Regions from separate parts of the Homo sapiens genome. Here all the other regions are linked to region 1. The links are contacts of gene promoters, found by promoter capture Hi-C in blood cells and fetal thymus (Javierre and others, 2016). All regions are on one chromosome and are shown on one strand. The core of a region is centred on a gene start or on the middle of the fragment in contact, and the rest is flanking DNA. Distances in the headings are between cores, read along the strand shown. Region 1 holds the start of LETMD1 (LETM1 domain containing 1). Region 2 overlaps GALNT6 (polypeptide N-acetylgalactosaminyltransferase 6). Region 3 overlaps DIP2B (disco interacting protein 2 homolog B). Region 4 overlaps GALNT6 (polypeptide N-acetylgalactosaminyltransferase 6). Region 5 overlaps BIN2 (bridging integrator 2). Region 6 overlaps ATF1 (activating transcription factor 1).

Region 1 (3,761 bases), core at 309-2,808:
TCCTCTGACTGCACGAGTGGTACAGTCATTAATAACCTGTGCTAATATAAAGCTCTGTGACCCATAAAGCATTATACAGATGTGGGAGCTTTCACAGCTGTATTCTCTTTGGATCCTCAAAGATTTCTTATAAAGTAGGTACTATTATAAGGGAAATAAACTCAGAGCTAAAGTGACATATCCAAGGTAACATTCACTAAAACAAACGTCAATGCCAAGATTGAACCTATATCCAGGGAACCCACATGGGATGCTCTACCACCTTCCATGAAGAATAAATATTCATATATATCCAAGAGGACTGTTAATTCTTGGAGGCAGTTAAGTACCACTTCTGGGAATCCTTCTTAGTTTCAAGTATGAATCTATTCAAACATGTTTACTGAACACCTACTATGTGCTAAGTAAGGCACCTAGTGTTGGAGGTGCAGCAATGAACAAGGCAGAGAAGATGCTTACCCTCATTCTAGTTCAGGGAGCTGTCAAACAAGGACACAAATACATAAACACTGTAAGTGACAGATGCTACAAAGAAAATACAAGGCCGGGTGCAGTGGCTCACGCCTGTAATCCCAGCACTTTGGGAGGCCAAGGCTGGCGGATCACTTGAGGCCAGGAGTTGAAGACCAGCCTGACCAACATAGTGAGATCCCGTCTCTACTAAAAATACAAAAATTAGCCGGGCGTGGTGGCGGACGCCTGTAATCCCAGATACTCGGGAGGCTGAGGCAGGAGAATCGCTTGAACCCGGGAGGCGGAGGCTGCAGTGAGCCAAGATCGCGCCACTGCACTCCAGCCGGGGCGACAGAGCAAAACTGTCACAAAAACAAAACAACAAAACAAAACAAAACAGAGTAACATGAGAATAAGTGTGAAGTGTGTCCTTTTCGCCGGCACTGCTTCAGATAGGGTGGTCACAGAAATCCTCTCAGAATAGTAACATTTAAGTTGAGACAGAGCTTGGTCTTCGGTAGGTGCTTAACGAAAACCATTTTCCCACAAACTTAGTTCTGGAAACGACAAAGAGAGGAAAAAGTGTACTCAGTCCGCACAGGGGCCGCTCCCAGGCCTCCAACCTTCGCCGCCAGACTGACTGGAAAGTGGACAGTTCCCGGCCTATCCACGCCGGCACCATTAGAGGGCGCCGCGGGTCCTCCTAGCCCCAGGCACTGGCAAACTGACATCTGCTACCTAACAGTCGAGGCTCCGACGCCCCGAGTCCAGGCAGAGGGCAAGGGCGGCGCTGGGAAGCCCTGAGGCCCTAAGGAATCGCGGAGGGTCACTGGGCGCCTCAAGGACAGGGTGCCCTCCGCGTCGCAAACCCACACCAGTGGCATAAGAACTCGCTCCCTCTGGGACACCCTGTTTCCGGCGCCTTTAAACCTGGAAGTACTGCTGTGTCCAATCCTGGCCCTCCTTCCGCACTTAGTCTTTGAGTCCTTCCCTCTCCTGGCTTGTGCTGGAGCCAAGCAGGCTATGGCTACCAATCAGCGCTCAGAAAAGACGCATGCGTCTTCGAACGAACGCGACGTACGGTTAACTTTGACCCAAAGACAACCTCTTCTCTCCCGCTTCTCTCGCTGTGAAGATGGCGCTCTCCAGGGTGTGCTGGGCTCGGTCGGCTGTGTGGGGCTCGGCAGTCACCCCTGGACATTTTGTCACCCGGAGGCTGCAACTTGGTCGCTCTGGCCTGGCTTGGGGGGCCCCTCGGTGAGGGACCTGTAGCGAGAAAAGCATTTTTGACGTCCAGGCTCTTTCAGTGTCTCAACCTTGCTTGCATTCTGTCTCTTAATTCTCAGAGTTCCACGCCTTGGCCCTGGAATTTTTATTCTTCTGTTCAGGATTCAAACTCCGATCCCCACTAGTGACCCGGCTTCCTGACCCTCTGTACTCTCAGTGCCCCATATTGTCTGGTTTCCCCGCGTGTCCTGAGCTCATCTTTCAGCCTCACTTTTTCGGCTCAGGTTTTACCGCTGCTATCTCGATTCCACCTCTTTCTGACTTAGCCTGCAGTTCAAATTGTCCCACAGGCATTGCGCTCTCTCCAGAGGCATACCCTGAGTTACTTTCCTGCCTGGCCTTTGCCTGATTTGTGTTTCACAGTCTGATTGCCTATCTCTTCTTGACCCCAAGACCTTCCTTGGATTTCAGAAGTGTCAAGCCTTGGGATACAATCTCCGAGACTCCTGCTTTACATTAGGGACTCAAGGCGTGAGGGAGCTTCTAGGACTGATTCCCAGATAGTCTCTTTGATCTTCCTTGTAGGTCTTCAAAGCTTCACCTTTCTCCAAAGGCAGATGTGAAGAACTTGATGTCTTATGTGGTAACCAAGACAAAAGCGATTAATGGGAAATACCATCGTTTCTTGGGTCGTCATTTCCCCCGCTTCTATGTCCTGTACACAATCTTCATGAAAGGTAAAAACGAAACTACAATAGAAATTCCGGAATCAGCTCTTGGGCAGGGTCAAAGAGTTAGCATAAATAAGATCATTTGCAGGTTCTGCTATGGGGATGTGAGCCGAGATATCTTATATTTCATAAATGCCTGCGCCTTAAACTAATTCCTATAAATTAGCACTTCTTGAGAATGTTTCTAGAAAGATGTTATGAGAAACAACTTATGACAGCAACATGAGGGAGGGAGAATATAGGTATGTTCTCGTACTTTCTTAACCACACACCTGGCTATAGTAGAAATTTTTTGCCTTGCACACGGCAGGGATCTGTGGCTGTATAGACCTGCCCTGTGATGTATCAGTTGACTTACCCATAGGAAAATGAGGTCTAACCCTTGTTATGAATCTATATTAGGTAGTATGTTGTAGTGGCAATAGCCCTACATAATACTTGGTTTCTAAATGTTTTGTTTCAAATCAGAGATCCTTAGTTACTAGGAGAAGATATGTATCGTGTCAAGTGTCTACTCTGGAGCCAGATTGCCTGATTCAAATCCCAGTTCGTCACTGTGCGATTGGACTAATTAATTAACCCCTCTTTCCTTGGTTTTCTTATGTGTAAAATGGGAGTAATGGAACCTACCTATTTATCACATGATTGTGAAGACTTTAAAAATTGATACATGTAAAGTACCTAGAACAGGTCCTGATCCCTAGTAAGTGCCAAGTAAATGTTAACTTATTTTCATCTAAATGTTACCTAACAGTATTATAAGTTGGTGCAAAAGTAATTGCGGCTTTTGGCTTTCAGTGGCAAAAACCACAATTGCTTTTGCACCAAATCTATAATATGCTCTATGCTTTTATCATAACACTATAATAAACTACATTGTCAAATCTGAACATTATCATAATTATTACTAGCTTCATGGACTTGAAAAATTACTTATCCTTAATTTGTAGAGATAAAATTGGCTGCTTTTTCTGTTTTCATGTAGATAAATAGGATCAAATGAGAGAAAGGGATGAAAGCATTTGTGTTTGTTTTTAAACTTTTTATTATGAATTTTTTTTTTTTTTGAGTCTCACCGTGTCGCCCAGGCTGGAGTGCAATGGCATGATCTCGGTTCACTGCAACCTCTGCTTCCCGGATTCAAGCAATTCTCCTGCCTTAGCCTCCCAAGTAGCTGGGAATACAGGCGCCTGCCACCACACCAGGCTAATTTTTTTATTTTTAGTAGAGGTGGGGTTTCACCATATTGGCCAGGCTGGTCTCTAACTCCTGACCTCGTGATCCGCCTGCCTCGGCTTCCCAAAGTGCTGGGATTACAGGCTTGAGCCACCGCGCCCGGCCAACTATTAT
Region 2 (3,773 bases), core at 604-3,103, 320 kb after region 1:
AGACAGTCCGGGAAGTGTGTCCTTGCTCCACTGTTGCTAGCTGCATGATCTTAGGTCAGTGTTTATCACTATGAGCCTTAGTATTCTTAGTATTGTACCTGCTTCATAGGGAGTGAGGATTAATCACAATATGTCAAGTGCTTGATAGAGCACCTAACAAATGTTGATGTGAGATGGCACAGGTTCCTGGAACTGGGTAGGACTGGGGCCAGGTTGGGGGCTCACCAGGCTGCGGTCCTTACTTGATGGGGTAGGTTTCATCCTTGCGCCTCTGCTTCTCATGTGGAGGAAGTGTTTCCCAGCCGAAGGTCAGGCTCCAGTCAAAGTTGCCTCGGCTATGGACTCTGCCCCTCTGGACGGGCTTGGCGAACTCAAAAGTATTAAGGTCGATGGTGACGATGTCTGGGCTCACCACCACTGTCTTGTCCTCAGCGATTCGAGCCAGGAGGGGCTCCAGCCAGCCGTGGAAGCACTCACCTGCAGGCCCCAACCAGGAGGCAGCAGTCAGGGCCCTGCCCACAGCAGAGCCCAAGCTGCATCCTGGAGGGAATGCCCAGGAGGATAAGAGACAGTCCACCTACTCCTGGGTTACAGGCAGCAAGCCCCACAGCTACAGGGAGCACACAGAATTTCCTAAAACCCTTCTACCACCCCTCTACCCCCAAAGGCGGAGGCAGCTTTGGCAGGGAGAATGGAGGTCTCAGGGGAGTAACATGGTCAACTCAGATGACCCAAAAGCACAGGGAGGCCCTGGATGGTATCTTCCGGGGTTCCAGCCGATCCATTGGCCCAGCCCTCCGGGCCCACGTGTGGATTTCAGAAGAGGGTGTTCCCCCTCCCAGGGGCATCCGCATGTCAAGCTTCAGCCCTAATTGTAGAAGAATAATCTCTTTCATTTGTCTAGCTCCTTGAGATTTTCAGTGAGCTTCTGCACGTATTATTACTTCATTCGGCCCTCAGAGTAATATTTCTGTTCAGTAAGGTTAGTATCCTCATTCCTATTTTATAAATGAGGAAACTGAGGCTGTTAGTGGGGCAGGGTCAGAATGCAAACCAAGAATTCTGACTCCAAGACTAGAGCTTCCCCTAATATATATCACCACTCCTAGGGAAAATATTTCATCCTCCACAACAGTGGGGAAGTGTTTTGGTTTTGGGCAAGAAGGAGGCCTTCCTGGCTCCATGTTGCCCTAGAAGAAAGCCCCAAACAAGCCAGTTCTGTCATAGCAGGAGGCCTCTCTGAGGGGCCAAGCTCAGAGCAAGGTGCAGATGGGAGTACAGGGAGGGATGAATGTCCGGGGCCCCGGTGATCACTGGAAATCACTTCCAGTGATTTTGGGGTCACCAGTTGTTTTAGGGATGTTTGTCTTCTTGATGAAACATCCTTGGGATTGGGGTGAGAAAGGGGTAGAGGCACCTGGAGTGGGTCCCAAGCCTCCTTCACTCCCGGAAGAGAGAACAGGAAGGGGCCTTGGGGAGGCTGTGGCCCTGGCTCATTCTAGCAGGGAGGGAGCCTCCAGGTTACACCCAGGCCGGTGCCCTGGTACTCACAGTGGGCATCCAGGAACGTGAGCACCTCCGCCTGTGCCACGCTGGCCCCCAGCAGCCGGGCGGTGATCAGCCCCTTCCGCTCCTCCTGCCGCACCACCCTCACCACCTGCAGCTGCTTCACGTACTGCTCCAGCTTCTCCTTTAGGTGCTCTGGAAGGGACAGTGTCATTGTGGCCAGTCCACCACTTTGCTGTATACCCAATCCCCTGTGGGCACCAAGCTAGGGGCTCTCAGGCCTCTAGCAGGCCTGAATTTTAAACCCCCAACACCTGCTGTACTGAGCCATTCCACAGAAGCCGGAGCTGGGGAAGGAGGTTAACAGGGAAGATGGGGAGAGGAAGAAAGAAGCCCTGTCTGTGGTCAAAACTGCCTCACCAGGGCTCTGGCTCTGTGGTGCTAGATCCTATGCCTGTTCACCTGGGCACCCTCTCTAATGTCAGGGACAGCACCTCAGAGTTGTGTTTCTGTGGTCACGTATCAAGTACAAACTTTTTGTTGTTGTTGTTGAGATGGAGTCTCATTCTGTCACCCAGGCTGGAGTGCAATGGCGTGATCTTGGCTCACTGCAACCTCCACCTCCTGGGCTCAAGTGATTCTCCTGCCTCAGCCTCCTGAGTAGCTAGGACTACAGGTGTGTGCAACCATGCCTGGCTCATTTTTACATTTTTAGTAGAGATAGCATTTCACCATATTGGCCAGGCTGGTCTCGTACTCCTGGCCTCAAGTGATTCGCCTGCCTTGGCCTCCCAAAGTTCTGGGATTACAGGCATGAGCCACCACGCCCGGCCCAAGTACAAAATTCTGACAGAGGCTCTCAGATGCCTCCCTCAGTTTCTCCACCCTCTCAGCCACCATCTTCCAGAGCTGCAATTCCACAGCTCCATTGCACGGTTGTTTTCCAGTGTCTAGGATTCCCTGTCTCCCAGGCTCTTCACGGTAACGTCGATGGGTGGGCATACACAAATGGTGACTCCTTGCTTGCTGGATCAGCAGCAGGACATCTGACTCTAATCCCCTTTGTAACCTCCTCTGCAGATAGAATTCTTTAAGGTGAAAACATGCCCAGCAGCTTTTTAATTATATTAAGAAAATACTTGCACCAAGCACCTACCACGGACCAGGCACAGTGGCGAGCCCAGCCGGCTTGACCATTTGTCCTAAGGAACAAACCACCCAGAAGCAAGGCTGACCAGGAAACAGGCAATTCCAGGGCAGGTGATCCATGATCTAACAGAGGTAGTGCTGGGGTGTGGGTCCCAAAGAAGGGCCAAATCTCCTGGATTTGAGGAGCGGGGAAAGCTTTTTGAAGGGAAGATGTCTCTACTGAGACCTCCAGCTCCTTTCAAAGAAGAGTTTTAGTTCATGGCCCTGTAATTTAGTCTGAAATCCTCAGAGCATTAACAATAGCTCTATTCTGGCTGGGCACGGTGGCTCACTCCTGTAATCCCAGCACTTTGGGAGGCCAAGGCAGATGGATCACTTGAGCCAAGGAATTTGAGACCAGCCTGGCCAACATGGTGAGACCCTGCCACTATTAAAAATACAAAAATTAGGCCAGACGCGCTGGCTCATGGCTGTAATCCCAGTACTTTGGGAGGCGGAGGCAGGTGGATCACCTGAGGTTGGGAGTTCGAGACCAGCCTGACCAACATGGAGAAACCCTGTCTCTACTGAAAATACAAAATTAGCTGGGCACGCATGCTTGTAATCCCAGCTACTCGGGAGGCTGAGGCAGGTGAATCGTTTGAACTTGGGAGGCAGAGGTTGCAGTGAGCCGAGATTGCACCATTGCACTCCAGCCTGGGCAACAAGAGCGAAACTCCGTCTCAAAAAAACCAAAAACAAACAAACAAAAATTAGCCAGGTGTGGTGGCGCACACCTGTAAACCCAGCTACTCGGGAGGCTGAGGCAGGAGAACTGCTTGAACCCAGGAGGTGGAGGTTGCAGTGAGCTGAGATCATGCCACTGCACTCCAACCTGAGTGACATAGCAAGACTTGTCTCAAAACAAAAAACAAACGAAGAATAGCTCTATTCTGAAGCAGTCCATCTTGAAACATACCGAATTCCAAACCTTACTATGTTTTACTAACTGCCATTTTGGTTTATCTCTGCCACGGTTCTGTTCTGTGCAGAATGGAGTTGCCTGCAGTTTCAGATGTGGGGGACAGATGTGACAATTGTGTGTCCTTTTCCTTTTGGACTGTGGGATCAGCCCAGAG
Region 3 (3,960 bases), core at 593-3,092, 320 kb before region 1:
GCTCGTATCACCAATCCCTACTCCGTATGTCCATATTGTCAGTGTTGCCCCAACTTAAAGTGGCAATGACTGCCTGCTGGGTGAAGTCTAAACTCCTTCATAGGATGGTTAAGCCCTTTCACAGTTTGGCCTTAGCCCTTCTGGCCTTACTTCTCCATTCACCCTGTATGCTACGATTTCAGTTGAATACTCTTTCTTTTTCTTCTTTTTCTTTCTCTCTCTTTCTTTTTTTGTTTCTTTCTTTCTCTCTCTCTCTTTTTTTTTTTTTTTTAAAGGAGACAGGGTCTCAATCTGTCACCCAGGCTGGAGTGCAGTGGCACAAATCACAGCTCACTGCAGCCTCTCGGGCTCAAGTGATCCTCCCACCTCAGCCTCCCAAGTAGCTGGGACTACAGGTGTGTGCCACCACGCCTGGCTAATTGTTAAAAAAATTTTTTTTGTAGAGGCATGAGTTTTGCTCTATTACCCAGGCTGGTCTTCACCTTCTGGGCTCCAGCGATCCTCCCATCATGGCCTCCCAAAGTACTGGGATTACAGGCGTGAGCCACCGTGCCTGGCCACTTGAATACTATTAATATTTCTGATCGCTTCAAACATGCTGTAATTATCGGCCTTTGTAAATGTTGTTCCTCTGCTTAGAACACCCTCACTACCGTCCCCACTTCTTCTGGCCACTGCCAAATTCATACTCATTCTTCAAGCTGCAGCTCAAGTGTCACCAGCTCAGTGAAGCACTACCACTCCCCTACCCTGGCTTATCGAGCTTGAATGAACTGCTCTTTATTCTGTGATGTCAGTGTTCTTGATTCACATCTCATATTCAGAGCATCAATAAAATGGCTATAAACATCTTTAAAAGAAACCATAGGAATAAAATCCAGTCCACACATAAGGTTTCTGAATAGAAAGAGGAAAAAATGCTACTCCATCAGGGTTTTAAAGATTAGTTATTAGGAATTACCTTTCCAGAATGTTTAGTATCATCTTGACCATATTAATTAGCTTGAGGGCAGCTGTAAGAATGTTATGTAGACTTAAGTGACCTACCACAGTCTGCTTTATTTCATAGTTGCTCCTTTTGCGAGTTGCATAGGAACAAGACTGATTCTTAGAGCTTTATATCTCATATGTCCCTACACTGTCCTTTACACTCAGTAAATATCTGTGGAATTGGTGGGGTTCTGAAGCATCAGGTATCCAGGATGAATTGATGATTCCAGCTCTTGTCTCTTTCACTGCAGTGTCTATTCAGGCCACCAGTCTGTCTTAATTCCTCCTATGGAGTTAGAGAACAACCTTTTCCTCTGGCTCTCCACAGTCAACCAGTACAAAATAAGGGACACTTTCTGCTCCTATTCAGTGATGGAGCTCTGCACCAAAGGTCTTGGGAACCAAGTGGAAGTGCTAAAGGTAAGAAGCAGCTCCAGCAGGTGGCCAGTCCCAAAAGGTTCTGAAGAAATGCGCCAGGACGTAACAGGGCCAGAGCAGGGGCTAACAGACATGTTTGCTTGCCTTTTTCAAGTCACTCAGTTAAAAAAGGGTGTATTTTAAACTTTGGCAAGTTTATCTCTTCCACCTTCCTAATTTAGTGCACTCTTCCACAGTTTAATATGATTCTTACTTTGTGGACAAGAAGCGGAAACTGGTTGGGAGGCTAACTGGAAAGACTTTATGTAAACATAAAAGGGAACTGTGGCTTCCAATACTTTTTTTTCCTAATAGAATTTGAAACCTCAAAATATTAGGAATTCAGAATATCTCCAAAGATAAGGGTAACTCATTGATTCATGTGTGTGTCAAATGATGATCTGTCTGACTTGCAGATGAGAAAGTCAGAAGATACTGAATTTTCTTTGATAGAAAAATATCTTTGGAATGCAAAAAGAGATGAGATTAGATCGCCAGAGTTCTAGATTAATTTTTCTCTCAGTCTCATCAAATAGGGGGACATCTAAGGTACAGAAATGAGGAGGGATAAAAACATTGCTGAAGAGCCTTAGATTTTTAGAAGAAAGAGGAAAGAACTAGAGAATGAGCAAATTTACCAGCAGATAGTGATTTTAATGGGATGCCTTGTCCGTTTCTTCTTTTCTGAAAGCTGCTTTTTTCTCTGTGTGCCTGAGGTGAGAATACACAATTGCTTGGCTTTTCCTGACCAAGGAGCTAGAACAGTGGCCTTACCTGTTCAGTTCTTTTATGATCCTACTGACTTGGCTCCCATATAATGGTGTCTTGCAGACCAGAGGGATCAACCTCTCCTGCGTCCGGACCTGTGTGGTGGTGGCGGAGGAGAGGCCCCGCGTTGCACTCCAGCAGTCCTTCTCTAAGCTCTTCAAAGACATCGGGCTGTCCCCGCGGGCTGTCAGCACCACTTTTGGATCAAGAGTCAATGTAGCAATATGTTTACAGGTGACCCTCATGAAATCTTGTCTGTTGACAAATGGGAGAGGAATATGGAGTATCCCAGAGCATGGGCTTTGGAGCCAGGCTGCCTGGGCTTGGGCCCCAGCCGCACTTACTTGCTTTGGAACTTCGGGCTTTTAAATCTCGATTTCTTTGTGTCTCATTTTGCTCATCTGTAAGGTGAAGGTAGCAGTACTGTGCTTCCCCAGGCAGCTTGCACAATCACTGAGCTGCCAACTCGGAGTTCTTGGAGCAGTGCTGACAGTGAGCGCAGTGTTGGTGTTTACTTGAGTCATCGTCGTGTGGTCATGATGACGAGTCACAAAGATTTGAGTCCTATTTGGATTTTACTTGTATCTGACCTGTTTTTCCTTTTTCTTTTTTTTTTTATTTGAGACGGAGCCTTGCTCTGTCACCCCAGCTGGAGTGTAGTGGTGCAGTCTCAGCTTACTGCAACCTCCACCTCCTGGGTTCAAGCGGTTCTCTCACGTCAGCCTCCAGAGTAGCTGGGATTACAGGCGTGTACCACCACGCCCGGCTATTTTTTGTATTTTTAGTAGAGACAGGGTTTCGCCCTGTTGACCAGGCTGGTCTCAAACTCCTGACCTCAAGTGATCCAGCCGCCTCAGCCTCCCAAAGTGCTGGGATTACAGACATGAGCCACCGCGCCCGGTCTGACCTTCTGTTTTTCTGTCTCTATATTCTATACCATTTTTTTTCTTTCTTTTTTTTTTTTTTTTTCCAAACAATAACCTTGTATTCTCTTCTCTACCCAGATGGCAACTTTGTCATGTTATTCTTGATGGGTAAATAACAGAAAAGGGACTAGAACTGAGACTAATTTTATGTATTAATGTGTAATAAGGCAAATATAGCGCCAGGTGTGGTGGTTCATGGCTATAATCCCAACACTTTGTGAGGCCAAGGCAGGAGGATTGCTTGAGCCCTGAAGTTTGAGACCAGCCTGGGCAACATAGTTGAGACCTCATCTCTCCCCTACCCCCACCACTCACCTGCAAAAAATATAGATGGGCTTAGTGGTACATGCCTCTAGTCCCAGCTACCTGGAAGTCTGAGGCAAGGGGATTGCTTGAGCCCAGGAGGTTGAGGCTGCAGTGAGCTGTGATTGTACCGCTGCACTCCAGCAACCTGGGCAACAGATTGAGACCCTGTCTCTTAAAAAAATAATAAGGCAAATATAGGCATGGACAAAGTGAGTGAAAGAAGATAGCACACATGGGTGGATTATTTCAGGTCTTCTGTGACCTTCTTCTTTCAGAAGGGTCTTGATGGTTTAAACTTGAGCCCCATCATAGCCCTCTTGCTGTCACTGTGGCCAATACTGGTTTTGCAAGTCCCTGGGTTGCCGACCTGTGTCACCTCTGCTTTGAATCCAGGGATGAAAGCCCTCCTCAGCATGGAAATGTTTCAGTGCTGCCACAGTCCCCGTGATAAGAGTGAGAGCAGGGGGCCTACTCTCAAGGGGAGGAGAGGTGAAAAGAGTGTGGATTTTTCATGTATATGGCTAAATTATTTCTTGGTTTGAAAATGTGAAAT
Region 4 (3,715 bases), core at 41-2,540, 300 kb after region 1:
AGTGAAACCCCGTCTCTACTAAAAAAATACAAAAAATTAGCTGGGCGTGGTGGCAGGCGCCTGTAGTCCCAGCTCCTCGGGAGGCGCAGGCAGGAGAATGGCGTGAGCCCGGGAGGCGGAGCTTGCAGTGAGCCGAGATCGCGCCACTGCACTCCAACCTGGGCGACAGAGCGAGACTCCATCTAAAAAAAAACAAAAACAAAATACAAAAATTAGCTGGGCATGGTGGTGCGCTTCTGCAGTCCCAGCTAATCTGGAGGCTGAGGCAGGAGAATCGCTTCAACCTGGGAAGCGGAGGTTGCTGCACTCCAGCCTGGAGACAGAGCAAGACTCTGTCTCAAAATAAATAAATAAATAAATAAATAAATAAATAAATAAATAAATAAATAGAGAGAGAAAAGAGTTGCAATGTGCCTTGAGGTGGGCAGAGGACCCTTGGGTTGGCCACAAAATGATCAGAGCCACTGCAGGCTCCAGAGCAGAGGACTGTGGGTGCAGCAGTCATGGTAGCAACGCATGGGGTTTGGAATTAGGCAGGGAGAAGCCAGGAACCTAGACAGAAGCAGGACCATCACCTGCCCACCCAGGGCTTTTGTTGCCTAAACACTCCAGAATCCAAGCTTCATGGCTGCAGGGGTGGGAGAAACCTGGAAAATGCTCTTTGAAGGAATCTGCACAGTCACTTTTTCAGTGTCTAGAGCTGTTCAGAGGAGTTGCACTTTGATGCTCAGATAACCTGAAGAGCTTGCTCTCCAGCCTGCCCTCCAGCATTCTGGCACACTCAGGGAAGAGGGGTGAGCTGCGCTAGGGAACCCGGGGCCTCTTTGGTCATTCTCCTCCCGCTTCCCTGCTTCCTCTGGCCTCTAGCCCCAGGATGAGGAGTCCAAGAGGAGGCTTGAGGGCCTCCTGAAGGTTACCTCTTTACATCACAGCAGGGCCAGATCACCTGAGGTCAGGAGTTCCAGACCAGCCTGGCCAACATGGTGAAATCCCGTCTCTACTGAAAATACAAAAATTAGCCAGGCGTTGTGGTGTAGTCCCTGTGCTTGGGAGCTGTAATCCCAGCTCCTTGGGAAGCTGTGGCAGGGAGAGTTGCTTGAACCCTGGAGGTGGAGGTTGCAGTGAGCCGAGATTGTGCCACTGCACTCCAGCCTGGGCAACAGAGCAAGACTCCATCTCAAAAAAAAAAAAAAAAAAATCTTACTCTTAGGGTTAGGCATAGACAATGGCTTAAATTTTTTCTTTTTTTAAGACAGGGTCTCATTCTGTTGCCCATGCTAGAGTGCAGTGGCATGATCTCAACTCACTGCAACCTCCATCTTCTGGGCTCAAGCGATCCTCCCACCTCAGCCCCTCAAGTAGCTGGGACTACAGGTGCCAGCCACCATGCCCAGCTAATTTTTGTATTTTTTGTAGAGACGAGGTTTCACCATGTTGCCCAAGCTAGTCTCAAACTCCTGAGCTCAAGTGATTCACCCACCTCAGCCTCCCCAAGTACTGGGATTGCAGGCATGAGCCACCCGCCCAGCCAGACAATGACTTAAATTTTGAGGCATTGCATTTCTTCTGACATTGCATACCAATTCTAGGAATGAATTCTTTTGAGATAAACACTGGTCGGGCATGGTGGCTCATGTTTGTAATCTCAGCAATTTGGGAAGCCAAGGCGGGAGGACTGCTTGAGGCCAGAAGTTTGGTATCAGCCTGGGCAACATAATGAGACCTTGTCTCTACAAAACATGAAAAAAACATGGTGGCGCATGCCTGTAGTCCCATTACTTGGGAGGCTGAGGTGGGAGGATCCCTTGAGCATGGGAGGTCGAGGCTGCAGTGAGCCATGATTGTGTCACTGCACTCCAGCCTGGGTGACAAAACAAGACCCAGTCTCAAAACAAAACAAAACAAAAAAACAGGCAGAAAAATAAATGTTCGAGGTTGTGGGTTACAGTATAGTTTGTCACAAAGCTTGTTGCAAAATTGGAAAAAAGCTAAGTATTCATCAGTAGAGGAAGACTGAATAAATTGGGTTTAACCCTGCTATGGAATACTATATAGCTTTATTATTTTTTTGAAACAGAGTCTCTCTCTGTCACCCAGGCTGGTGTGCAGTGGCACGATCACAAATTACTGCAGCCTTGACTTTCTGGGCTCCAGCAATCCTCCCACCTGAGCCTCCCAAGTAGCAAATTTCACTTTTTTAAACCTCACTTTTCTAGATCACTTGACTTTTCTCCACAATATTACTTTAAAAAAAACAAAACAAAACAAAATGGAGTCTCTCTGTGTTGCCCAGGCTGAAGTGCAGTGGCACAATCTTGGCTCACTGCAACCTCCACCTCCCAGGTTCAAGCGATTCTCCTGCCTCAACCTTGCGAGTAGCTGGGATTACAGGTGCCCACCACCACGCCCAGCTAATTTTTGTATTTTTAGTAAAGACGGGGTTTCGATATGTTGGCCAGGCTGGCACAGTATTACTTTGGTAATTAAAAATAAGAATAAATTCTGGGACATCTAGCTATTTGTGGCAATGGCCCCAGTACTCTTCATGTGGGAAACAGATCCCCAGAGAGGCCTAGCTCTTTAATGCTAGAGTGAGAGACTCCTAGAGCCGGGAGATAGTAGCACAGGGCTAGCAGCAGGGTTTTAAGAGGTAGGGGCCTTAGGTTAGCTGAGAGTGGTCAGAGGGGTGGGTTTTAAGGAAGAATACGGGTGTTGTTAGGGCCAGGCCAGGCTTGACTAAGGAAAATGCCATGAAGAAGCTAGTTTCTTGTTTGTTTGTTTGTTTTTTTGAGACAGAGTCTCACTCGGTCACCCAGGCTGAAACACAATCTCAGCTCACTGCAACCTCTGCCTCCCAGGCTCAAGCGATTCTTGTGCCTCAGCCTCCCGAGTAGCTGGGATTACAGACGCCTGCCACCACGTCTGGCTAACTTTTGTATTTTTAGTACAGACTGGGTTTCGCCATGTTGGCCAGGCTGGTCTTGAACTCCTGACCTCAAGTGATCTGCCCGCCTCGGCTTCTGAAAGTGCTGGGATTACAGTTGTCAGACATTGGTGCCTGGCCAAAGCTAGTTTCTTGAGCCTTCCCACCACTCCCATCAGTGCCTTCTCCCTCTTCTCCACCACCTCCCTTCCCTAGTCCTCCCCTCATCCCTGAACCCAGACCTCCTCTCTAGACACAGCCTGTGTCTCCCTCCTGCTGCATCTCCCACTCCCTGCGAGTAGCTCTTGGCTGACTGTGCCTGGGAAGTGCTATGCTATTTGGGGGCAGGTGGAACCTTCTTGACACAGCTGGGCACCTTGGTTGGGCTACATCATATGATTAGGCTGGGGAGCTGTTGGGTGATACCATAGACAGTATGAGGGATACTGGGATCCACGTTTGGATATTTAATGCAACCAAGAATAAGGCTAGGGTTAGGCTCCACGACTCCCTGTGGCTTACCGGACCTACCAAAGCCTCTCTCAACTGGGCCCCAACCCACTCTTGTACGGGGCTGAGTTACCCAGTAGGCACAGCAGGTGCAGTGCCCAGGGCCCATAGAAATGTTTTAGCTTCTTTTAAAACCAGAAGAAATAAAGTAAATCCAATCAGCCTGGATTACATTCATCTTTATACCAACATAGTCATAACATTAATTTTTTTTTGAATGGAGCAAGAGCTCCGTGAAGGCTAAAGTGCCTAGGGCCCCTGAAATTCATGATGTAACTCTGA
Region 5 (3,827 bases), core at 472-2,971, 270 kb after region 1:
TCCGTATCTTTTGTGATACTTAACCACATCCACTTCATCCCATTGATCGATTATTCACTCCCTTCCAAGTGCTTGCAACTTCTGTATCTTGTATACAGTCCAATTGTTGTTTTATTACTACTACTACTATTATTATTATTATTATTTTGAGACAGAGTTTCGCTCTTGTTGCCCAGGCTGGAGTACAATGGCGTGATCTCAGCTCACCACAACTTCCGCCTCCTAGGTTCAAGCAATTCTTCTGCCCCAGCCTCCTGAGTAGCTGGGATTACAGGCATGTGCCACCACGCCTGGCTAATTTTGTATTTTTAGTAGAGATAGGGTTTCTCCATGTTGGTCAGGCTGCTCTCGAATTCCCGACCTCAGGTGATCCGCCCGCCTCAGCCTCCCAAAGTGCTGGGATTACAGGTGTGAGCCACTGTGCCCGGCCTGTTTTATTATTTCTATTTGTTTATTCTCCTAAACTATAGGCTCCTTAAGGTTTAGGTACTTGCTTTGTTCATTTGGATTTCTCAGTATCCAGGAACTAGATATTTAATAATTGTAACAGGAAGGAGAGTAAGACTGATCTAGGAGAGGATATAGGACTGAATGAGTGGAGCCTTGGAGTAGGATTTTCTAGACTGAAATAGAGTATAGGGGCTAGGCGCAGTGGCTCACGCCTATAATCCCAACACTTTTGGAGGCCAAGGCGGGTGGATCATCTGAGGTCAGGAGTTTGAGACCAGCCTGACCAACATGGTGAAACCCCATCTCTACTAAATACAAAAAAAATTAGCTGGGTGTGGTGGTGCACGCCTGCAATCCCAGCTACTTGGGAGGCTGACGCAGGAGAATCGGTTAAAGGGTTGCAGTGAGCCAAGATTGCGCCATTGCACTCCAGCCTGGGCAACAGAGCGAAACTCTGTCTCAAAAAACAAAACAAAAAATTAAATTAAATTAAATTAAAAAAGAAAAAAAAGGCCGGGAGCGGTGGCTCACGCCTGTAATCCCAGCACTTTGGGAGGCAGAGGCGGGTGGATCACGAGGTCAGGAGATCGAGACCATCTTGGCTAACACGATGAAACCCCGTCTCTACTAAAAACACAAAAAATTAGCCAGGCGTGGTGGTGGGTGCCTGTAATCCCAGCTACTCAGGAGGCTGAGGCAGGAGAATGGCATGAACCCGGGAGGCGGAGCTTGCAGTGACCCGAGATAGCGCCACCGCAGTCCGGCCTAGGCAAAAGAGCAAGACTCCGTCTCAAGAAAAAAAGAAAAAGAAAAAGAAAAAAGAAATAGAGTATAAAGGGTGACAGCAGAAAGAGGATTCCAGTTAGAGACAACAGCATCAGGAAAATCATAGGAGTACACAGCTTCACTAGCTGGTTCAGCATGGCTGTTATGGGGAGTGGTGGGGAATGAAGCTAGAAAGGGAGACTGGAGTTTCATTGTGAAGGGCTTTGAATGCCATGCAAGAGTGCCCAGATCTGGGGAGTGTGGCAGGTTCTGTGGAGAGACTCTGATTCATATCTCCATTCTTTTTTTTTTTTTTTTTTGAGACAAGTCTTGCTCTGTCGCCCAGGCTGGAGTGCAGTGATGCCATCTCAGCTCACTGCAACCTCTGCCTCACCGGCTCAAGCCATTCTTCTGCCTCAGCCTCCCAAGTAGCTGGGATTACAGGTGCCCACCACCACGCCTGGCGAATTTTTGTATTTTTAGTAGAGACAGGGTTTCGCCATGTTGGCCAGGCTGGTCTTGAATTCCTGACCTCAGGTGATCTGCCCACCTCAGCCTCCCAGTGTTGGAATTATAGGCGTGAGCCACTGGGCCACCAGTATCTCCATTCTTAATCCGGGGGTGTGTCTCATTCCTGGAGCTCTTGCTGTAGTGGATAAGATCAAGCATTCTGGAGTTAGACAGATATGGGCTCCTATCTTGGCCTTTCTACTTACTGACTGTAAGTCTTCAGGCAAGTCATTAAAACTTTTGAGCCTCGGTTTACAGAACTCCCTTTCCCCCATTAGATAATATTTATCTCCTTGAGTTGTCAGGAGGATTAAATGATATTTTGCATGTAAATTGCTTTCTCAGAGCTGCCCTACAAAGAGCACTCAATAGGTACTCACTGTCATTATGTTTAGTTTTGCTCCCTTGCCTGTAAATGCTTATATTTTTGGTTTGGCCATATCTGTTTGGTTTGGCCATATCTGTTTTTGTCCGTCTCTAACTGCACCTCACTTGCCACCCAGCCCTGGATGTGCAGTCTGCCATCCTCCCTGGCTCCACCCTTCTCAGCTAACAAAACACTGTTCTCTACCAGAAAGTTGCAAAACCACCTTGTTAGTGGTAAGTGCAGCTCTTAACTTCCTTTCTGCTACCCCTCCCTTCCTTTGTCCCTAATTTGGTTCTTCTTAGGTGGAGAGGACAGAAAAAACAGAAAAGAGAAAACTCAGTCTAGAGTCAGTGTAAGGGATGACTGGGGCAGACCAATCTCCCCAATCCCCAAAAGGCTCAAGGCCAAAAGGCTTGGAGAGTGTGGGGTCGGGGGTTGGGGGGTACTGAGAGAAACTTCCTCACCCTCCAACTCTGAAAGTGAAAAGGTGTTACCACCCTGAAACATACCCCAGTACTCTGGAGCCAAAGTAATTTGTTGCCATAAGCAACAGGTACATGTTAGGGCACTTATACTGTGTCATGGGTGTTCTTCCCAACGAAAGACCCTTGAGGGAACAGGGTGTACAGATGCTAAACAGATGTTTGTTGAAACAATGAATAAATTCTACTTTTGGATCACTTCCTAATGAAAACCCATATAATGCTAATCCCTAAAATCCTGCTTTGAGAATTCTGTCCCAATTTATCTGGCCTGGCAGCTAAATTAGAATATAGATATTTAAGGAGAAAGAGCAAGAGCAAGGCAAAAAAGTAAATGTGGCAAAACGTTAACACTTGGTGAATCTGCATGAAAAATATTCCAGTGTTCATTGATTATTTATAACTTTTCTGTAGATCAGGGTTGGGGTGGAAATAGAGCTTTAAAAAAAATTACTACATATATCTTTGGTGGCTATAGTTCCCTACCATTGCCTCTCCCATAATCATTTATTATATTTTAGTTAATTCCCTCAATTGGGGTAATTTGCATAGGGCCTGGATATTTGATATTATAAAATTTTGCTAAAATTTTTTCTTAGGTGCAGTAAATTTTTGTGGTTATGTAGGAAATCTTTCTCTTTCCTTCCTTCCTTCCTTTTCTCCCTCTCTTTCTTTCTTACTTTCGAGACAGAGTCTAGCTCTATTGCCCAGGCTGGAGTGCAGTGGCACAATCTCAGCTCACTGCAACCTCCACCTCCCAGATTCAAGCGATTCTCCTGCCTCAGCCTCCAAGCAGCCAGGACTACAGGTGTGCACCACTAGGCTAATTTTTGTATTTTTTGGTAGAGATGGGATTTCGCCACATTGGCCAGCCTGGTCTCGAACTCCTGGGATTTCGCCACATTGGCCAGCCTGGTCTCGAACTCCTGACCTCAGGTGATCTACCCACCTCGCCCTCCCAAAGTGTTGGGATTACAGGCATGAGCCATGGCGCTTGGCCGGAAATCTTTATTTTTAGGATATATGATAAAGTAAGCTTTCCTTAAAAGGTCCTAATATACTTTTTCCAGCCTTTGCTCTGACCACTCCCTGTGCTCCAGCTGAGCTGTAGTTCTCACTCCAGTCTCCATGCCTTGCTTATGCTGGCACTTCTCAGCTAGAATGCTCTCTGATCACGTGTCTGAAAAACTACTAATCTCCCATAATTCCTATTTCAAATTCAGCCTCCACTATAAAACCTCTCGATTCTCCCC
Region 6 (4,301 bases), core at 540-3,039, 270 kb before region 1:
GTTAGTGGTTCTCTCCCTATTTGCCGTATTTGATCTCTCATAGCTCATTTATTCTCATTCTTACCTAGCCTACATATCCTGAAGTTGATTATCTAAGTTTTCTAGAACTTATTTAGAACCTCCTTAGGTATAGTTTTATTTATTTGTTCAACTTTTACTCAGTAAATTCTCTATATAAAAAACTATATGTACACTTAGAAACTTCCCTAGACTAGAGACAGATATGTTTGTGTCCATAGACAGGAGGACTGTCATCATTCTTCAATGGGATAACGTTTGCAAACTTAGTCATCATAATTTATGTTTATATGTGCCTTTTATTAAACTTAAACATGTTTTTGTGGGCCAAAATTCAAAAAATTTAAAGAAAATGCACAGTCCCCTTTCTATCTCTATACCATTGCTACCAGTTCTTTTCCATTGAGGCAACTAAATGATCAATTTTTATATGATTCTATAGTATACTGTAAACATTCTGTATCATATTTAATTTTAACGGACTTTTTTCCCCCTTATAGTTGATTATGGAAGATTCCCACAAGAGTACCACGTCAGAGACAGCACCTCAACCTGGTTCAGCAGTTCAGGGAGCTCACATTTCTCATATTGCTCAACAGGTAAGGGAGGGACTGGCCAAAATACTGAGCTTGTTAGGAATATTTTATATGCAGATTAATCTCGTTTCAGACTGATTATTAATGTGTTTTATTTTGGTTTTTGTTTTTTGGGTTTTTTTTTTCGAGGCAGATTTTTGCTCTAGTTGCCCAGGCTGGAGTGCAGTGGCATGATCTCGGCTCACTGCAACCTCCACCTCCTGGGTTCAAACAATTCTCCTACCGCAGCCTCCCAAGTAGCTGGGACTACAGGCATCTGCCACCACGCCTGGCTATTTTTTGTATTTTTAGTAGAGATGGGGTTTTACCATGTTGGCCAGGCTGGTCTCGAACTCCTGACCGCAGGTAACCCACCCACCTTGGCCTCCCAAAATGCTGGGATTACAGGTGTGAGCCACCAGACCTGGCATTAATGTTAAAAAAAAAAAAAAACAAAACAAGCAAAGGCCAGGCGCAGTGGCTCACGCCTGTAATCCTAGCACTTTGGGAAGTCAGGGCGGGCGGATCACGAGGTCAAGAGTTCAAGACTAGCCTGACCAACATGGCGAAACCCTGTCTCTAATAAAAATCAAAAATTAGCCAGGTGCAGTGGCGGTTGCCTGTAATCCCAGCTGCTCGGGAGGCTGAGGCAGGAGAATCGCTTGAGCCTGGGAGGTGGAGGTTGCAGTGAGCACAGACTATGCCACTGCACTCCAGCCTGGGCAATAGAACGAGACTCCATATCATAAAAATAAATAAATAAAAAATAAAATAGAAAAACAAGCAAAAAAGACTGTATAAAATGTTAAAATATAAGAAAAGAAGGTGGACTTTAAATATCTTGTCAAGATCATTTAGTTTTATTTTCTTTTAAACGAAGTATATAGTCATCTCTCAGTATCTGTGGGAGACTGGTTCCAGGACGTCCACAGATACCAAGATCTGTGATGCTTAAAGCCCCTGATAGAAAACGGCATGGTATTTATATATAACCTACATATTTTCCTGTATACTTTAAATCATTTCTAGATTACTTTTAATACCTAATACTATGTAAATGCTATGTGAATAGTTATACTATATGACAAGAAAAACAGTCGGTACATGTTCAGTATAGAGAAATTTTTTTTCCTGAATATTTTCAATCTGTGGTTGGTTGAATCCACAGATGTGAAACTCATGGATGCAGAACCCATGAATAAAGAGGCCTAACTGTATTTAGAGTTGTTTTCTTTGTTTTTGTTTTTGTTTTTCAAGGCAGGGTTTCGCTCTGTCGCTCAGGCTGGAGTGCAGTGGTACGATCTCGGGTCACTACAACCTCCGCCTCCCGGGTTCAAACGATTCTCCTGCTTCAGCCTCCCGAGTAGCTGGGATTACAGGCGCCCACCACCACACCCAGCTAATTTTTTGTATTTTTGGTAGAGACGGGGTTTCACCTGTTGGCCAGACTGGTCTCAAACTCCTGACCTCAGGTGATCCACCCACCTCAGCCTCCCAAAATGCTGGGATTACAGGCGTGAGCCACCGTGCCCGGCCAAAAAATTTTAAAAATTAGCTGGGTGTGGTGGCACTACAACACCTGTAGTAACAGCTACTTGGCTGAAGCAGGAGGATTGTTTGAGCCCAGGAGTTCAAGGCAGCAGTGAGCTATAATCATGCCACTGCACTCCAGCCTGGGTGACAGAGTGAGACCCTATCTCCAAAAAAAAAAAAAAAAAAATCATGCATGAGTGTAAGAGCCATTTAAAGTGCAAGATGAGACTAACGGATTTTAATGTTAACAATACACAAAGTTCAGACTGTACATGGCAAATAACCTTTAAGAAACTATAACTTGCTGAGTTTTGCTGCTGTATCAAAGAATACAATGAAATGAAAAGGCTTTTAAAACACTACACATCTTTTCTAATTGCATATCTATGTGAGGGCAGATTTTCTTCATATAATTCAACCAAAACAATGTATGATAACATAATTAATGTAGAATCAGATAAGAGATTTCAGCTGTTTTCTTTTTCTGTTTTTTTTGTTTGTTTGTTTATTTGTTTGTTTGTTTTTTGAGACAGTGTCTCGCTCTGTCGCCCAGGCTGGAGTGCAGTGGCGCGATCTCGGCTCACTGCAACCTCCGCCTTCCAGGTTCACGCCATTCTCCTGCCTCAGCCTCCCGAGTAGCTGGGACTACAGGCGCCCGCCACCACGCCCGGCTAATTTTTTGTATTTTTACTAGAGACAGGGTTTCATCGTGTTAGCCAGGATGGTCTTGATCTCCTGACCTCGTGATCCACCCGCCTCAGCCTTCCAAAGTGCTAGGATTACAGGCCTGAGCCACCACACCCGGCCTTTTTTTTTTTTTTTTTTTTAGTAGAGACAGAGTCTCACTATGTTGCCCAGGCTGGTGTCAAACTCCTGGGCTCAAGTGATCCTCAGCATCCCAAAGTGCTGGGATTATAGGTGTGAGCCACTGTGGCCAGCCTTTTTTTTTTTTTTTTTTTTGAGACGGAGTCTTGCTCTGTCGCCCAGACTGGAGTGCAGTGGTGCGATCTTGGCTCACTGCAACCTCTGCCTCTTGGGTTCAAGTGATTCTCCTGCCTCACCCTCCCGAGTAGCTGGGAATACAGGTGCCCACTGCCACGACCAGCTAATTTGTGTATTTTTAGTAGAGGTGGGGTTTCACCATATTGACCAGGCTGGTCTTGAACTCCTGACGTCAAGTGATCCACCCACCTTGGCCTCCCAAAGTGCTGGGATTACAGGCATGAGCCACTGCACCCGGCTGATTTCAGCTGTTTTCTATTAAGCCAGATATTAAGGAAATTTGCAGAAATGTAAAACAATGCCATTTCTCTCACTAATTTTTTTTGAAAATGTATTAATGGAAATAGGTATGGTAACGTGTAATGGATTGTTATTGTATTTTGAAATGAACTGCTAATTTTTTAAATTTAATTTTAAATATGGTAAGTATTAATAAATATAACTGAAATAATAATTTTGGGGGGTCCTCAATAAGTTTGAGAATGTCAAAAGGATTTGTGACCAAAAGGTTTGAAAACCAGTGACCCAAAGGGGTTAGTCCTTTAAGCTTGATATATCCTTCTGCCTTATTTGGCTATATCTGTGAAGAATAGCAGTGTCTTCTCCAGATGGTGCTAGAAAAATAAGGTGGAGTCTTTCTTTGATTATTTTTCTGTTAATAGAGCACTTTACAGAAATGTTCTAATTCAGTTGGCTTACTTATATCTATATTTCAGTTATTTTAGTTAGATGTGACTCTTCAAATTTCCTCAGAAGCATATTTACGGTGAAGTGGAATAAATACATTTCTAGATAGTAAATCATTTTATAGTGATTTTTAAAAATAATATGGTTGGCAGGCTGGGCACAGTGGCTCATGCCTGTAATCCCAGCACTTTGGGAGGCCGAGGCGGGTAGATCACGAGGGCAGGAGTTCAAGACCAGCCTGGCCAAGATGGTGAAACCCCGTCTCTACTAAAAATACAAAAATTAGCTGGGCATGGTGGCATGCACCTTTAATCCCAGCTACTCGGGAGGCTGGGATAGAGAACTGCTTGAACTGGGGAGGTGGAGGTTGCAGTGAGCCGAGATCATACCACTGTACTCCAGACTGGGCGACAGCGCAAAACTCCGTCTGAAAAAAAAAAAAAAAAAATGGCTGGCCACGGTGGCTCACACCTATAATCCCAGCAC

Evidence for each region. Contacts are between HindIII fragments. The CHiCAGO score rates a contact against its expected background, and 5 or more counts as called.
Region 2: a fragment that was not itself captured here is called in contact with the fragment with the promoter of LETMD1 in region 1 in 10 of 17 cell types (naive CD4 T cells, M0 macrophages, naive B cells and 7 more); the score reaches 8.4 in naive CD4 T cells.
Region 3: a contact is called between a fragment that was not itself captured here and the fragment with the promoter of LETMD1 in region 1, in 1 of 17 cell types (erythroblasts). The highest score is 5.1, in erythroblasts.
Region 4: a fragment that was not itself captured here is called in contact with the fragment with the promoter of LETMD1 in region 1 in 16 of 17 cell types (megakaryocytes, endothelial precursors, activated CD4 T cells and 13 more); the score reaches 12.9 in megakaryocytes.
Region 5: a contact is called between a fragment that was not itself captured here and the fragment with the promoter of LETMD1 in region 1, in 14 of 17 cell types (naive B cells, erythroblasts, neutrophils and 11 more). The highest score is 8.2, in naive B cells.
Region 6: a fragment that was not itself captured here is called in contact with the fragment with the promoter of LETMD1 in region 1 in 3 of 17 cell types (M1 macrophages, erythroblasts and M2 macrophages); the score reaches 7.3 in M1 macrophages.

What each region holds. Positions count from the first base shown.
Region 1 is chr12:51,046,769-51,050,529 of GRCh38, forward strand. It overlaps LETMD1 (LETM1 domain containing 1), which reads left to right and starts at 1,559. Exons shown (of 9, transcript NM_015416.5): 1 at 1,559-1,710; 2 at 2,266-2,417. The coding sequence starts at 1,589. RefSeq lists enhancers at 834-953, 1,004-1,083, 1,174-1,443, 1,265-1,803, 1,554-1,603 and 1 more. The HindIII fragment of the contact is 4,204 bases long and covers 1-2,273 here.
Region 2 is chr12:51,363,879-51,367,651 of GRCh38, forward strand. It overlaps GALNT6 (polypeptide N-acetylgalactosaminyltransferase 6), which reads right to left. Exons shown (of 12, transcript NM_007210.4): 5 at 1,552-1,701; 6 at 243-477. Among named protein-coding and RNA genes, the nearest start is that of CELA1, 19 kb to the left of the region's middle. The HindIII fragment of the contact is 1,990 bases long and covers 859-2,848 here.
Region 3 is chr12:50,730,128-50,734,087 of GRCh38, forward strand. It overlaps DIP2B (disco interacting protein 2 homolog B), which reads left to right. Exons shown (of 38, transcript NM_173602.3): 31 at 1,242-1,410; 32 at 2,239-2,409. Among named protein-coding and RNA genes, the nearest start is that of ATF1, 32 kb to the right of the region's middle. The HindIII fragment of the contact is 4,800 bases long and covers 1-3,960 here.
Region 4 is chr12:51,347,656-51,351,370 of GRCh38, forward strand. GALNT6 (polypeptide N-acetylgalactosaminyltransferase 6) reads right to left here. Exons shown (of 12, transcript NM_007210.4): 12 at 3,597-3,715. Among named protein-coding and RNA genes, the nearest start is that of CELA1, 2.8 kb to the left of the region's middle. The HindIII fragment of the contact is 1,345 bases long and covers 619-1,963 here.
Region 5 is chr12:51,316,746-51,320,572 of GRCh38, forward strand. All of the region lies in intron 1 of BIN2 (bridging integrator 2), which reads right to left. Among named protein-coding and RNA genes, the nearest start is that of BIN2, 5.5 kb to the right of the region's middle. RefSeq lists enhancers at 2,140-2,199, 2,480-2,649. The HindIII fragment of the contact is 3,774 bases long and covers 1-3,608 here.
Region 6 is chr12:50,779,622-50,783,922 of GRCh38, forward strand. ATF1 (activating transcription factor 1) reads left to right here. Exons shown (of 7, transcript NM_005171.5): 2 at 519-617. The coding sequence starts at 525. Among named protein-coding and RNA genes, the nearest start is that of ATF1, 18 kb to the left of the region's middle. The HindIII fragment of the contact is 3,767 bases long and covers 1-3,673 here.